Linked DNA regions of Homo sapiens: region 1 is linked to region 2. The links are contacts of gene promoters, found by promoter capture Hi-C in human tissues and cell types (Jung and others, 2019). All regions are on one chromosome and are shown on one strand. Each heading gives the region's core, a stretch centred on a gene start or on the middle of the fragment in contact. The rest is flanking DNA. Distances are from core to core; before and after follow the strand shown.

Region 1 (7,576 bases), core at 1,972-4,471, 290 kb after region 2:
TGGGGCTGGGTTTAAACCAGGCCAGTCTAGCTTGTAACCTCTATGTCATATTGGAATAGACTCTAGCACAGTGGTTATAGGTTCCTACTAAAAGAGGTTAAAAACCATGACAGCTATGCTTTAAGAATACATACTTGAATGTAAGTGTTAGCCCTGACATCCAATTTGTCTTCCCAACGCCTAGTATATAATATGGCTCAAGAAATGTTTATTAAATATGTGTTTCATTTTTTTTTTCTTTTTTGAGATGGAGTATCACTCTGTCACCCAGGCTGGAGTGCAGTGGCACGATGTCAGCTCACTGCAACCTCTGCCTCCCAGGTTCAAGCAATCTTCCTCAGCCTCCCGAGTAGCTGGGACTACAAGCATGTGCCACCATGCCTGGGTAATTTTTGTATTTTTAGTAGAGACGGGTTTTTACTATGTTGGCCAGGCTGGTCTCGACCTCTTGACCTTGTGATCTGCCCGCCTCGGCCTCCCAAAGTGCTGGGATGACAGGCGTGAGCCATGCACCTGGCCTAAATATGTGTTTCTTGAGCAGACTTTTGATATCATTGTTATATAGATGAAGGGGAAAATTACTGGAAATTTCTCAGTTTGGACCCAAGTCTATTTTCACATCTAGGCTGAAAGCCCTAGAGGAGGCTTGGGTATCCACGCTCCGGGTCTTCTTAGCCTGAGCGTGGTCCGGGCTGCCGCTCTGCAGAGTGGCATGGCAGCAAGTCCTCCCCGCAGCTGTGTAAGCCTTAGCGGTCAACTCGTCCACAAACTCCGAGGCAGGCTTCTCCAGCTCTCAAGCACCTCACCCGGAGATTCTCATACCATCGGTGCAGCTCAGTCATCCAGTTTTTTGTTTTGTTTTGTTTTTTTCTTTTTTTGAGAGAGTCTCACTCTGTCGCCCAGGATGGAGTGCAGGGGTGTGATCTCGGCTCACTGCAACCTCCGTCTCCCGGGTTCAAGCGATTCTCCTCCTTCAGCTTCCCAAGTAGCTGGAATTACAGGCATGCACCACCACGCCCAGCTAATTTTTGTATTTTTAGTAGAGACGGGGTTTCACCATGTTGGCCAGGCTAGTCTCGAACTCCTGACCTCAGGTGATCCGCCGGACTTGGCCTCCCTAAGTACTGGGATGACAGGCGTGAGCCACCGCGCCTGGCTTTTTTTTTTTTTTTTTTAAAGACAAGGTCTGGCCCCATCACCTAGGTTGGAGTGCAGGGGCATGATCTCAGCTCACTGCAACCTCCACTTCCTGGGCTCAAGCCACCCTCACATCTCAGCCTCCCAAGTAGCTGGGACTATAGGTGTGTGCCACCGCACCTGACTGATTCTTGTATTTTGTAGAGATGTGGTTTCATCATGTTGCCCAGGCTAGTCTCCAACTCCTGGGCTCAAGTGATCTGCCTGCCTCGGCCTCCTAAAGTGCTGGGATTACAGGCCTGAGCCACTGCACCCGGCCTGAATCATCCAGATTTTTAACAAGTTGTTCTTGTTCCGGGAGGATGCCCTAGGCTGGTCTCGGATGCCTCCTATCCTCAGCAGGCGTGAGAACGGCGGGGCAGGGACTGCCTGGCTCTTCCCAGGAAGCATCTTAAAATCCTGTGGTTAAAGGGCAGCTGCACATGCCCCTGTGCTAGGCAGGCACAGAGTGATGCAGGCTCCTTCATTCTCTGCCCTTCCTGATGGACAATCTGTCAGCTTTCCAAATGGACCAAGCCTTGTCAGGACAGGAGCAGCCGACAGATCAGGGTTCAAGGGAAACTCACCAACTTGCAGACTCCTTGGGAGGCTGCTGTGGCTGTTCCGCTTCTGTTCCTCCAGCCCACGGTCAGGAAGTGAAAACCCAGGCAGAGCCAAAGAGGCAGCAACTCCATCTCAAGGGCAGCCCTGTGGACAGAGAGCAGGGAAGAGGTAAGTCAGAGAAGGACATCCCAGAGGGCTGTTTGTATTATCGGCAGAAGGAGCCAGTTCCAATTCTATGTGGTCTTGGAGCTCTGTGGAGCTCCATAGAGGTGCAGCCCACAGGATACTCAGATACCTCCATTTAGCCAAGACTTCCGGCCTTTCACTGAAACTGTTGACAAGAACTCAATTTCATTTTGCCTCTACCACTTGATGGACGGGTGGCTGAACACTAAACTTCAGCGAGTCCAGCACAGAAGGGAGAAGCAAAAAGCTTGAGTAACCAGGCCTCCAGTCACCTGGAGTTTCCCATATTTTGTAATTCTGCTGAAGTTTTCCTGCCTCCAGCTCCAATCGGTCTGATGCATCCCCTGAGCTCAGTAAGTACTTGCTGAGTGAATGAATGAACAACTGGAGAGTGGACGGAGACGGAAACACGGATGGGGGCCTCTGTCCCAGAGTTACTCCTCAGCTGCTGATGTGGGGCTGTTACAAAAGCGTTGATCTCTTTGGTTCACTCATTTGACTATGACCCTTTGAAAAAAGAGGTTTGATATTTTGCTTGGACGGGGGAAACACGGAGGGAAAATGAAGAAGCAATCTTTGGGTAGAATAAAGGTGGTTAACGAAACGTGGTTGCCAGCCCGCTTGCCTGGCCAGTGCACAGAGAACAGCAATAATGAGAAGGCTTGAAGGTATACACGCACCAGCAGAGATTCAGAACTAAGGGGAGCCATAAGGGAAATGCAATATACTCATCACATTTGCCAGGTGAACAAAGGCCCAGAGATACTACTCGAGGTTGTGGATGAACTTAGTGGCAGGGCTAAGAGCAGCCCCGCCTCGCTCCCCGAGCTCCGATGAGTGAGCAGGGCAGTTTCTCCCAGCAGCGAGGCTGCACTCACTGCTGCCCTGCTGGGGACCTGACGCCCAGTGCATGCCCCCAGCTCTGCATTCTGCAGACCCAGAGGCAAGAGCTGGCCCCAGCATTCCATCTGCCCATTCCTTGACACCTACCGGAGGCCCAGTGTCTGCCCTCCCATCTTCTCCTGGGCCAGCGGCACCAGCTCACCCCACCTGCTCGCTCCAGCCACTCAGGGGCCTCCTCTTTCCTTTCTTCAAATGCATTTAGGGATCTTGAAAGCTCATTTTACCTTCTTGATCAGATTTGAATGCTCACCAGTGCAAACAGACTAATTGAAGAGCTCAATGAAACCGGGTAAGCCAGCTTTCACTTCAGGCCAGGCCAACTCCCCTTACTACAGAGAGAACCTCCAATGCAGAATTTACCAGAACTTGCCAGACACTGGGAATCCCCTTCCAGACCCATTTCTGCCTCTGCACCCACACAGGAGTCATTGCCTTGTGGCCGGCACAGGGAAGAGAGGGCAGAAGCAGAGGTGTACGGGTTCCTGACCTCAGGATCCCCCCAGCACCCTTCCCCGCCCCTGAAACCTGGGATCACCACCACTGCCCGCCATGAAATAAGGCTGCATAGTTGCAGATTTAGTAAATTACAAGGCATCATTTCAATGCTAGATACATCCTTATACTAACAAATTGTTTATCTGACATTCAAACTTCACTGGGCATCCTGAATTTTACTGAGGGGAGATGGGGAGGTAAGAACCCTCCCTTCCTCCCTGGCCACCTCTTGTCAGGTGTGGGGTGGTACCTGCTGCTGTGACTCCAGTCTCTCTGGAAGAGCCAGCCCTGCGTATCGAAGAACTGAATCTAGACGTGTAAGGGGCAAGAGTGCAGGTCCCTCAGCGAAAAGGCAACCTTCAGACTGGAAGGCAAGCCAGGCCTTGTGTCACACTCAGGAGGGGCATTTTAATTTATGGGTCATCAAGAATTTTGCAAGTTTAAAACATATCCTCTCCTTCCTCCTAAACTCAGCCAACCAGCCCAGAAAAAAACTCTTGTTGTGGCCCTGGCAGGAAGCAGCAGGATATCATGGGAAGATCATGGAATTTGGAACCAAGCAGACCAGAGTTTGAATTCTGCCTCTGTTATTTGTTATTTGTCCTTTAGGAATTCAGACAAAGTCTCCAAGACTCAGAGAATCCGTCTACAAAATGGGAGTAATAATAACTATTCCAGAGTTGCATGAGAATAACCAGTCTCATGAATGTGAAAGGGCTTCATGGCTGTAAAGGTAGCAAGTAACACAATTATTAATTATTACTTGTGAGTTCCAAACACCAGTGAGTTGACTGAGTGCTGGTTATTCCTGTGTAATCTCCAAGGTAGTTCAACAGCTACACAAAGTCTAAAATAAAGGCCTGAGTAATGTGGCTGGAAGGATGAATTATACCAACTAGATATGTAAAACATATGCAGGAAGGTTCAATTAAAAACTCTGCATTCATAAATTGCAGAGCAAGGCTAGCCCTGAGCACAGATGACTATGCTGGCTGACAGCGGTTTGTCCCCAGAGCTGCGCCTTCCCCTTCCCTGCCCTCCTCAGTGTGGCAGGGCTCTGACTTCTGAAGGTTCTGAATCTCAAACTCTGCTGTCACCTGGCCTCAAACTGCTGTCACCTGTCACAAACTCTGCTGGTTTAGTCAATGGAAGACACTCCTCCTGGGAGGTCAGACAGTAGAGGGCAGAAAGAATCCAGCATACTTCTCTCCCTTCCTCTCTGCCTTGGACAGAGACATCCTAGAGTTTCTTCCGCTGACCCCTAGGCTCTGGTGACACCACCTCCTCCTCTTTGTTTTTGTTCGTTTTGTTTTGTTTTTTGAGACGGAGTTTTGCTCTTGTTGCCCAGGTTGGAGTACAATGTTGTGATCTCGCCTCACTGCAAACTCCACCTCCCGGGTTCAACAATTCTCCTGCCTCAGCCTCCCAAGTAGCTGGGATTACAGGTGCACGCCACCACGCCTGGCTAATTTTTGTATTTTTAGTAGAGATGAGGTTCCACCATGTTGGCCAGGCTGGTCTCAATCTCATGACCTCAGGTGATCTGCCCGCCTTGACCTCCCAAAGTGATGGGATTACAGGCGTGAGTCATGGTGCCTGGCCCACCTTCTCCTCTTGTCCTCACCCTACCTAGGTGAGGATAAGAAGCTTCCTGAAGCTGCTCGTCGCTGTGTTGACTGTTTATTTGCTTTCTCAGCCTTTTCCACCATGTGTTGCCACTTTCTTGCATTAAATATCCTCTGTCTTAAATAATCTGGGCAGTTTCCGTTTCCTGGTTGGACCCTGACTAATACAATCATGTGAGAATGGCCAAGACCCAGTGCTAAATTAAAAGTATGTAATGACTGTAAAGAAATAAAAGGCTTTCAAAATAGTGACCATTGAGGTTGAGAAACACTCTTCGTAGAGTGTGTAGCTGCAGAGAGCTTCCTCAGAGCCATGGCACTGCAAAGAGTCCAAGATAAACAATCCTCTTGCCATATCTCTCTGCAAAATCCCGTGACTCATCCCCTGCATGCACAGGACTGCTTCCTCTCCTCCCACATCCTCAGGGCTGAGGACCACGCCACAGCATCTGCAGCTGTAAGAGGGCATCTAAGCCAGAGTGTGCCCAGCATGCAGGAACAGGTGGAAAGCCCAGCCGCTTCCCGAGGGGCTGCCAGCTGGTGAGTGTTCCTGGGACCCTGAGCTGCCTGTTGCTCCTGTCTGGACAAGGTTTGGCCCATTTGGAACACTGCTGCATTCTAACTAGTTATCATGGAATGCTGTGAGTCTACTCCATAGCCAACCTTGTCTATGAAGATGTGGTGTTGCTTTTTAGGCAGAGAAGACAACGTGGTTTTCTGCCTCCAGACCTGGTCATAGTAAGAAAGTGGTAAAAAGATTCATTCATAAAAACAACATGAATGGAGGTTGTATTCTGCAACAAGAGAATGCTGACAGTGAGGAAGAAGAACGTACAGCCGCTGCAAAGAGTCTCCTTTGTTTTAGAAATTATGTTTGTTGCGAACAGGTGCGGTGGCTTACGCCTGTAATCCCAGCACTTTGGGAGGCCAAGGAGTGGGGGGTCACTGGGTCTCAGGAGTTCGAGACCAGCCTGAGCAAGGTGGCAAAACCCTGCCTCTCTAAAAAAAATACAAAAATGGCCGGGCGCAGTGGCTCACTCCTGTAATCCCAGCACTTTGGGAGGCCGAGGCAGGTGGATCACCTGAGGTCAGGAGTTTGAGACCAGCCTGGCCAACCTGGTGAAACCCTGTCTCTACTAAAAATACAAAAATTAGCTGGGCGTGGTGGCGGATGCCTGTAATCCCAGCTACTCGGGAGGCTGAGGCAGGACAATCGAACCTGGGAGGTGGAGGCTGCAGTGAGCAGAGATCTCGCTATTGCACTCCAACCTGGGCAGCAGAGCGAGACTCTGTCTCTAAAAAAAGAAATGCTACAGAGTAGCTCAGATCTGAATTTTGCTATTGTTTTGTTTTTAGAAAAGGATGCTGGATTTCTACTATTCAGGTGCACGCTGGATATCTGAATTGTTATCCCGGCCAGAGTGACGGCCTCTCCTTGTTGGAGCTGCTCGGACACCTTACCGTCCCCACCCCCACCTCCCCTGACTGCTACTACGTGAGCAGCTGCTGCCAGAGCTGGGACCGGACCCTCTCCGCTAAAGGGGCTCTGAGCAAGTGCCATACGTATGTTACCACGTAGTTAAGAATTTTCTCCTCAAAGTAATCAGAGAAGCTGAAAAAGCTTTACGGAAAGAGGTCTCCTGGAGAAAGTGGGCAGCTCTCGGGGCACTCTGTGCTAGAAACAAATATTTTGGCCGGGCGCAGTGGCTCACGCCTGTAATCCCAGCACTTTGGGAGGCCGAGGCGGGTGATCACGAGGTCAGGAGATCGAGACCATCCTGGCTAACACAGTGAAACCCCGTCTCTACTAAAAATACAAAAAATTAGCCGGGCGCGGTGGCGGGCGCCTGTAGTCCCAGCTACTCGGGAGGCTGAGGCAGGAGAATGGCGTGAACCCGGGAGGTGGAGCTTGCAGTGAGCCGAGATCACGCCACTGCACTCCAGCCTGGGCGACAGAGCGAGACTCCGTCTCAAAAAAAAAAGAGAGAAACAAATATTTCTCCCTGGGTCTGGGGGAGGGCTCTCCAGAGGCAGAGTGCGCACAGGTGCAGTGGTAAATGTGTGACAGTGACACTCATGGACACACAAGGGCACACGGTGCCGGATGGAGGCCTCCACAAGAAAGGGAGTCTGCCTTTGACTGCAAGAAAAAGAGCAATTGCACCTGGGATCTGGGAGAATGGGAAGGGCAGCTGGTCACAGACCACTGAGAACAGATGATACAGAACAAAACCAACCCCCAGTCTGTGACCATTTCCAACAGTCCCTTCTCCAGGAAGCACTGGGAAGTCTCAAGCAAGCAGCTCTGGTCCCTCTGATTCTTAGCAAAACATTAGGATGACCTCAACTTTCACCAAATGTCCAAACTCAACACCCCCGTGGTGAGAGCTCCTGCCATTCTGAGCCTCTGAGTGTGATGACTTAGGAAACAGGGTACTGTCCTGGTGGAACGCCTGCCAGAAACACTTGCCCTGAATCCAGTCATGAGGAAAGCCTCTGACAGATCTGGGCTGTAAGACGTCCTGCAAGGTAACTGGCCTGGACTTCTCAAGAGTCAGTCTTGAAAATCAAAGAAAGGCTGGAGTGGGGCTGGGGGTGTCTGTTCTAGATTACAAGTGACTAAGAAG
Region 2 (7,580 bases), core at 65-2,564:
AAATGCTGCAGAGCTGTGTTAAGGACTTAGGCCCTGGAGTCAAATGCCTCTGCTCACATCCCACTCTGCAAGACTTTGGGCAACTTAAGCAGCAGCCTCTGTTTCCATCGCAGTGGCTCTTGCCTATAATCCCAGCACTTTGGGAGGCTGAGGCGGGAGGATCACTTGCGCCCAAGAGTTCGAGACCACCCCATCTCTACAAAAAAATCCAAAAAGTAATCTGCTTCCTCATGTGAATGTCGTTGTAAGGAGTGAGATAACACATAGAGTGCAATGAGCAAGTCCCAGCACAGAAGACTCATTTCATAAAATACGTGTTTATTATTACCATAGGCCTACAGTCCCCGGTATTCTTAACACATCTTGCCTGAGAAGTATCACACTCATGCCTATCAACCAGCTCACACATTTAATCAAAGGAATTTGGCAGCTGTAGGGTTGTCTTTTCATCCATATCGTCCCTGGAATTAACTGTCCTGCTATACCAGTCAGATTGAGCAGCATCTGTCAAGAGTTTCAGTCCCACTTGCAGAGGAAAGGCTCTCTGGCTTCGGTCCGTGGCTCTCCGTAGGTGCCGTGTCTGGACCCAGCCTACCTTCATCTCTGTTAGGCTTAGGGCTGTCTCCACACTGTGTCTTGTCCAATCACAAGACTTCAACGGAGCGGGCGGTCTGGCCTAGGCTCTTATGCGTGGGATGTCTGCAGGCCAACAATCCCAGTCGGGATTCGAAGCCGCGCGCAGTGCCCGGAATGACCCCTCCACATTGATGCCACTGTAGAGCCCGGAAGGAAAAGCAAGCGGCCTCGGCCCCGCACAGCCCAGGATTAAATGTTTGCGCCAGGGCCCCTCTGGCTACCTGGTGGTGGCCCCGAGCGGCCTCGGAGGCCGCGGCGTAGCTCCTGGGTGAAGGCGTCTCTAAATCGCTCAGCGCGGCGGCACAGGGAGCCCACGGGCCCAGCCGCGAGGTCCTGCAGGCGGCGGGCCGCGTCCTGGCCCCGCAGCTGGGCCTGCAGCAGTGCGAAGGCCGTGAGCTGCGCCGCACGTCGGATAGGCCGCGACTCTGACAGACGTTCCACCAGCTGCGGGCTGTGCAGCAGGGCGGCCAGCAGCCGCCGCAGCACCATCTTCTCCAAGCGCCCGGAACCCGACCTCGCCGCCCTCGTCTTCCGCCCCGCGGCGCCCGACCCGGACGTCTATGCCCCCGCGCAGCTTGATGACGACACGCCGCCCTCGGATTGGGTCCAATGAGATGCTCGCCTCCGCGCGTTTCCGCTTCCGCCATCGCGGACGCAGCCTCGTGCCGGGAGTCGCCGCATTGTGGTCCGCTTCTCTGCACTATGTCGGGTGGCCTCCTGAAGGCGCTGCGCAGCGACTCCTACGTGGAGCTGAGCCAGTACCGGGACCAGCACTTCCGGGTGAGGGAGGCCGGGCCGCGAGACGGGAAGGCCCTGGGCAAGAACGCTGAGAAACGGTTTGCTCTTGTCTCATTGTGTCGCCTCCCATTCAGCTGAAATCCGCAAACGCCAAGTGGGGCCCCGGTGCCTGCTGGCGAGGCAGGGAATGGGTGCTGGAAGGGCGCTTGGATATCACTGAAGCCACTTGCTCTGGAAGACGGGGAACTGGAGGCTCGCTTATCCCATTCGCTCGCAGCCGCTCCCTGTACCCCAGCCAGTGCCGAGAGGTTTGAGCGGTGGTGGTGGTGGCGGCTCCCGTTTCCACGGTTGTGCCTCCGCAGACGACTACGTAGCAAGGGGGAGGGGTGCCCTTCTCTCTCCCAGAGTAGGCAGAGGCGCCTTCCTGATGCAGATGCGGGGCTTTTTGCTTTGTTTTTTAAATCGGCGAAGCAGTGCCCTTCGGCGATTCGGGCCCCTTCTCTGGGAGGATGGTGTTACGGAAGCTGTACGCGGTGCGTGGGAGACACAAGTGGAGTCCTCACTCCGCCCTCGGGGAAGCTTCGGAGTGGGGAGGTGGACCCGCCAAGCTCGGCACTTTGAGGGTGTTCGGATGTAAAGATCGGAGAATTGCTGGATTTCAGAAGAGGGAAATTTTTAGTCCGGACTATATCACAGTATATTTTGTGGAAAAAGGGGAGGCAGCAGATATTCAAAGTAGACTTTTCAGTATCAGCGGAGGTAGGGATGGAATACGGTTGGGGGTTGGCGGGGCGGGACTCATTAACCCAATTATTTAGTAAACGTTTATCGAGTGCTGTCGCCAAATCCTTGTGCTAAACCCTAGAGGGAGAGGGAAGACAGTTTCTGCGCTCTGCGAGCTCATAATCCCCTGTAGTGAGGATTCAGAAAAGGGAAAAATCCCCTTGTGACTGGGAAAGGAAGGGGCGCATATAGCAGAGGGTAAGTGTGGAGAATGTGTGAAATGTGTTACTAGAGTAGGGAAAGGGAAATTTTGTTTGACGCTAAATTAGGGAAGCTCTTAGATTTATTTAGTCAAGGCTGGGAACGGTGGCTCACGCCTGTAATCCCAGCACTTTGGGAGGCTGAGGCGGGTGGATCACGAGGTTAGGAGTTCAAGACTAGCCTGGCCAAGATGGTGAAACCCCGTCTTACTAAAAATACAAAAATTAGGCGGGCGTGGTGGCAGGCGCTTGTAATCCCAGCTATTCGGGAGGCTGAGGCAGGAGAATCGCTTGAACCGGGGAGGTGGAGGTTGCTGTGAGATCGCGCCACTGCACTCCAGCCTGGGCAACAGAGCGATATTCCTTCTCAAAAAAAAAAAATTTATTCAGTTAATGTATTTTATTTTTTGAGACAGAGTCTCGCTTTATTGCCTAGGCTGAAGTGCAGTGGCGCAATCACGGCTCACGCAGCCTCAACCTCCTGAGCCTAAGTGATCCTACCCACCTCAGCCTCCTGAGAAGCTGGGACCACAGGCTCGCGCCACCACATCCAGCTAATTTTTTGTAGAGACAGGGTCTCCCTGTGTTGCTCAGGCCAGTCTCGAACTCTGGGACTCAAGCGATCCACCTGCCTGGGGCTTCCCAAAGTGCTGGGATGCCTAAGTGCCAGGCATGATTTGCACTTCTACCACTTTTAGTTACTACTTTAGACAGTTCCACATCCTGACCATTTTGAACTTAAAGCATCCTGTGAGATGAAAACTGGAACCTTCTGACTTTGTCTATTATTCATCTCCTCAGTCTAAACCTGTAGCTTTTTTTAGATGCTAATGCCATACTGTCATGTGGAATTTCTAGCATTCTGTGAATGGAATCCATATTAATATACTTTAAGCACTTACACCACAGTTATCTTAAACTGTAGGCTATTTATTTGGATCTTACTTACATGTGTGAGAAAAGTAGAAAAAGAAGATGCCTCCTTTCCATGTTCACAAATCAGTAACAGCAGTAAAATGAAAGGAATTTACTTTCTCTAATGTCTCACTCCAAAGTTCCGAAAACCTCTTTTTAACATACAATGACTATTGTCCTGTGGACTTTTTTTTTTTGAGATAGAGTTTCACTCTTGTTGTCCAGGCTCAAGTGCAGTGGTGCAATCTCAGCTCCCTGCAACCTCCACCTCCCAGGTTCAAGCGATTCTCCTGCTTCAGCCTCCCGAGTAGCTGGGATTACAGGCGCCCGCTGCTACCATGCCCAGCTAATTTTTGTATTTTTAGTAGAGACAGGGTTTCATTCACTATGTTAGCCAGGCTGGTCTCAAACTCTTGACCTCAGGCGATCCACTCGCCTCAGCCTCCCAAAGTGCTGGGATTACAGGCATGAGCCACCGCGCCTGACCCCGATGAGCCATTTTGGACCCAGGGCTTTGTCTGTCAGGTGTGTTGGATGAAGCCCAGTTATATGCTTAAGTCTCTGGCTTCATCCTGTCATCCCAATTTGGAAGCCCATTAAGAAAGTGAGCTCTGTTTTGTTTTTAGTGATCACTACATTTTCCCCTAAACTCAGAGAAAGATCTATGAGCACGTAAAGCATCAAGGTTGTGGCTTTCAACAGTCTCTAGGGGGTTATTAAAGAGGAACTCTCTCTCTCTCTGAAAACCCACTTATTTTTCACTACGAAGGATAAAAGGGCCCTTTGTCATATATTGGGTCAAGGTCCAGAGTCTACACTTGGGTTTAAAGGATGCACTGCTGAGGATATGGTGTGTGCAGGGAAAAGGGAAGCCGCTTGCGTGGCAGTCGGGCGTAGAAGTGACTTTGTTGTATGTGGTATAACTTTTGAGCCCTGTCTCTACTAAGAGTCTGGACTTCGCATAAGTGCTTCACAGAAGGTCGACATCCCCCTTTTTGGGCAAGGGATTTCTGGTAGGCTGGGATGAGAGAAGTTGATTTCCAAACCAGAATTAATGAATGTCTCTACCGTACTTAGAAATACTATTTAAGCAAGGCTCTGAAGTTGCTTAACTTTTGTCTCTATTTGAAATTCTAGGGTGACAATGAAGAACAAGAAAAATTACTGAAGAAAAGCTGTACGTTATATGTTGGAAATCTTTCTTTTTACACAACTGAAGAACAAATCTATGAACTCTTCAGCAAAAGTGGTGACATAAAGAAAATCATTATGGGTCTGGATAAAATGAAGAAAACAGCATGTGGATTCTGTTTTGTGGAGTATCCTTCCCATGGATCTAATGTAGCTGCTGAACCAGGGTAGAGCTGAGAGTGGTAGCTCATAAGCGTCCCTGCACTCGTCCCTACGTTTTCCTTCATCTCCCTCCTACTTTCCACCCAGTGTGTCTCTGCCCTTATACTGTAAAGCTGATACTATTTATATTCTCTTCTGAAATCCATGCTTTATGGTTCTTTAACAAAAAGTTTTTCAAGAATGTTTGCCCTTCACGTAAAAAAAAAAAAATTCCAAAGAATGTAGTGAAAATATAAAAATCTCGTACTGTTCTAAACCCCTAATGCCCTTTGCCAGAGGCAGTCAGTTACCAGTTTCTTGGGCGTCTTTCAAGAAGTAACCCTGTGGGTGTGCGGTAGTGTATTTCATGTGCTGTTTTTAAAATCATTTTTTTATTTTTTATTGTTCCATTTCAGCATATGTAGGTCTTTTTTTAAAATAGCTGTACAGCTGGGCATGGTGGCTGGTGTTTGTAGTGCCAGCTGCTCAGGAAGCTGAGGCAGGAGGATCAGTTGAGCCCAAGATTTCAAGGCTGCACTGAGTTGTGACTGTGTTCCAGCGGGGGTGACGGGTTAAGACCCCATCTTTAAAGAAAAAAACTTTTAAGTAAATAGCTGTATAGTATTTCATTATATAGATGTATATAACCTGACTGTATAGGTACAAACCAAAACTATTTACTTTGATCATTTAATTCCCTTACTCAGACTCTTTTAAGTATTGGACCTCTTGGATTTATCCTATGTTCTTTTTACTGTATGTTTTGGTCATTCAATTTAATATTCTGAGAAATTTTGCAGGCCCAATTTAATATATCTTTTGAATTTTTTCCTGTGCCCTGAATTATGTTTGTTTCGGTTGAAATTTTTCCTTAAGTGTCTGGTGATCCCTGGATTTCTGCTCATAATTAAGGAAAAGAATGCTGACTCACTGGACCCAGGCAGGGCTTCTCTCCCAGATTGCAGGCTTGCCTCGGGGATACACAGGTTTCCCAAATGCTAGAATGAAAAGAGATTTTATTTTGGCTTGCTAACATCAAAGATACTAGTTTCTCCAGATGGTTTATTCAGAACACTGTTGTCTTATTTTTATTTGTCTGAGATTAAATGTCTTCCCCTTTAATTAAAGGGAGGTCTCTGATGAAGTAGGTTTGGGAACTGCTACCTTGGTGACAGCTTGAGTCTTTCCTTTAGTGAAGTGCAGCACAATTCCACGTGCACGGTGACCTTCTCTTGATTAGGGTGCCTTGGAATGTACAGAACCTAACTTGAATATACAGCACTGGTTTCTTGGATAAGAAGTGTACAGTGATCTAAACTTGCAAACCAAAATACAGAGATGATGGGACCAAAAATTATCAACAGGAATGTCCAAGAAATATGATCAGTGTAGCCATGGATACGTGTCATATTTGACTCTATGTGCTTCCAAACCAATCGCAAACAGGCCTGGGCAAGCTGAATTACTGTCTTTGAACTCCATCTGGTTGGATTAGCTCTTGTACTTTTTAACAACTCAGCTTCATTTACATGTTGTTCCCCTATTTCCAGAAATGTTTGGAAAAATGCTAGTGTTCCTTAATACTTAAGATATTACTCACGCGCAGATGCGGAAAACGCCATGCGGTACATAAATGGGACGCGTCTGGATGACCGAATCATTCGCACAGACTGGGACGCAGGCTTTAAGGAGGGCAGGCAATACGGCCGTGGGCGATCTGGGGGCCAGGTATGCAAGAAGGGTCTCTGGGCTCAGCCATTGCCTGGGATTCCAGTCACAATGACAGGTGTTTTGGCAATTTGTATTTACTCTTTTGTAAATAACTTTGTGTCTATAACCTTGGCTTGAAGTGGATCTGAAAACCACCCAACGGTTTGGGTGAATTTTTTTTTTAAACCGTGAAATGGTATGTTCTGTACGTTTCTAACAAGCAACCATTCTTGAACTTCTGCTAGGGCTAGGTATCTTCCACCTGCAGGAACATCTAAAATGAAAGCAAAACGCACTGAAGTGAGCTGAAGTGCATATGTCCTGCTTGAAATGTTCACATTGTGGCATCTGAACAGGTTTCACTGTTTGTCTAACATGTTTGTGGGAGGCATATTTGTTACACCATTCTTTTCCATACTGTAACTCTGGATTCTTTCCATTAAAGGTTCGGGATGAGTATCGGCAGGACTACGATGCTGGGAGAGGAGGCTATGGAAAACTGGCACAGAACCAGTGAGTGGTGAGAGCTCTGTCAGTGACAAACACTCCTTTGGCCTGTTGAATTTGCTGAAGAACATCACCTAAAGTCTGCACACGAGCCCATTTTTACCAAGATTTGATCAGTGTCTTTACTGAGCTGGAAGCCTCTGAAAGTTATTAAAGGACAGAATCCAAAAGAATGCCTTTAATTCTTGTCTGAGAATCTTGGCCATGTGTCAGATTATCAGAACAATTTTGTTACCAGGTCAGAAATTGTGTTCTTTGACAACAGATTGGATCTGTAATGTTGATTAGTCTTTAGCCATAACCACTACACTTTTAGAAAGACAGAAAAATGTAAGAATTTGTTTTTACCATAATGAGTCTTAAGTAGGTTCATGATCTACATTGGGGCCTGGGATTATTTTTTTAATTTTAAGTTTGCATGAGATAGCCTAATAAATGGAGGTGGGGCCAGGCATGGTGGCTCACACGTGTAATCCCAACACTTTGGGAGGCTGAGGAGGAAGGATAGCTTGAGGCCAGGAGTTTGAGACTAGACTGGGCAACATAGCAAGACCCCGTCTCTACAAAGCACAACGAAAAACAACAAATGGAGTTGTGCTATGTTGTATTGCTTTGCACAAAATTAGGAACAGGTGTTTGACAATTGAATTTGTTTTCTGTGAATTCTAACCTCTAAAGGCATGCTTAGAGGTCAAGGACCTTCCTGTGTAGTTGGTGCAAAAGCAATCTCCACAGGACAGCACTGCTTCCATGCTTCAT

Evidence for each region. The method cuts DNA at HindIII sites, captures the fragments that hold promoters and counts their contacts. A contact is called where the count stands out against the background at its distance.
Region 1: a contact is called between a fragment that was not itself captured here and the fragment with the promoter of NCBP2 in region 2, in 1 of the 25 tissues and cell types used here (mesenchymal stem cells).

The regions. Positions count from the first base shown.
Region 1 is chr3:196,648,835-196,656,410 of GRCh38, reverse strand. NRROS (negative regulator of reactive oxygen species) reads right to left here. Exons shown (of 3, transcript NM_198565.3): 2 at 1,764-1,884. The coding sequence starts at 1,871. Among named protein-coding and RNA genes, the nearest start is that of NRROS, 13 kb to the right of the region's middle. RefSeq lists an enhancer at 4,894-5,659. The HindIII fragment of the contact is 5,100 bases long and covers 672-5,771 here.
Region 2 is chr3:196,936,262-196,943,841 of GRCh38, reverse strand. It overlaps NCBP2 (nuclear cap binding protein subunit 2), which reads left to right and starts at 1,314. Exons shown (of 4, transcript NM_007362.5): 1 at 1,314-1,416; 2 at 4,410-4,591; 3 at 6,194-6,332; 4 at 6,760-7,580. The coding sequence starts at 1,339. The coding sequence ends at 6,831. NCBP2AS2 (NCBP2 antisense 2 (head to head)) reads right to left here and starts at 1,168. Exons shown (of 1, transcript NM_001355243.2): 1 at 299-1,168. The coding sequence starts at 1,125. The coding sequence ends at 826. It overlaps NCBP2-AS1 (NCBP2 antisense RNA 1), which reads right to left and starts at 3,965. Exons shown (of 3, transcript NR_046630.1): 1 at 3,715-3,965; 2 at 2,700-2,868; 3 at 1,308-1,449. RefSeq lists enhancers at 711-870, 635-1,308, 1,091-1,390, 1,441-1,580, 1,611-1,850 and 1 more. The HindIII fragment of the contact is 10,051 bases long and covers 1-7,286 here.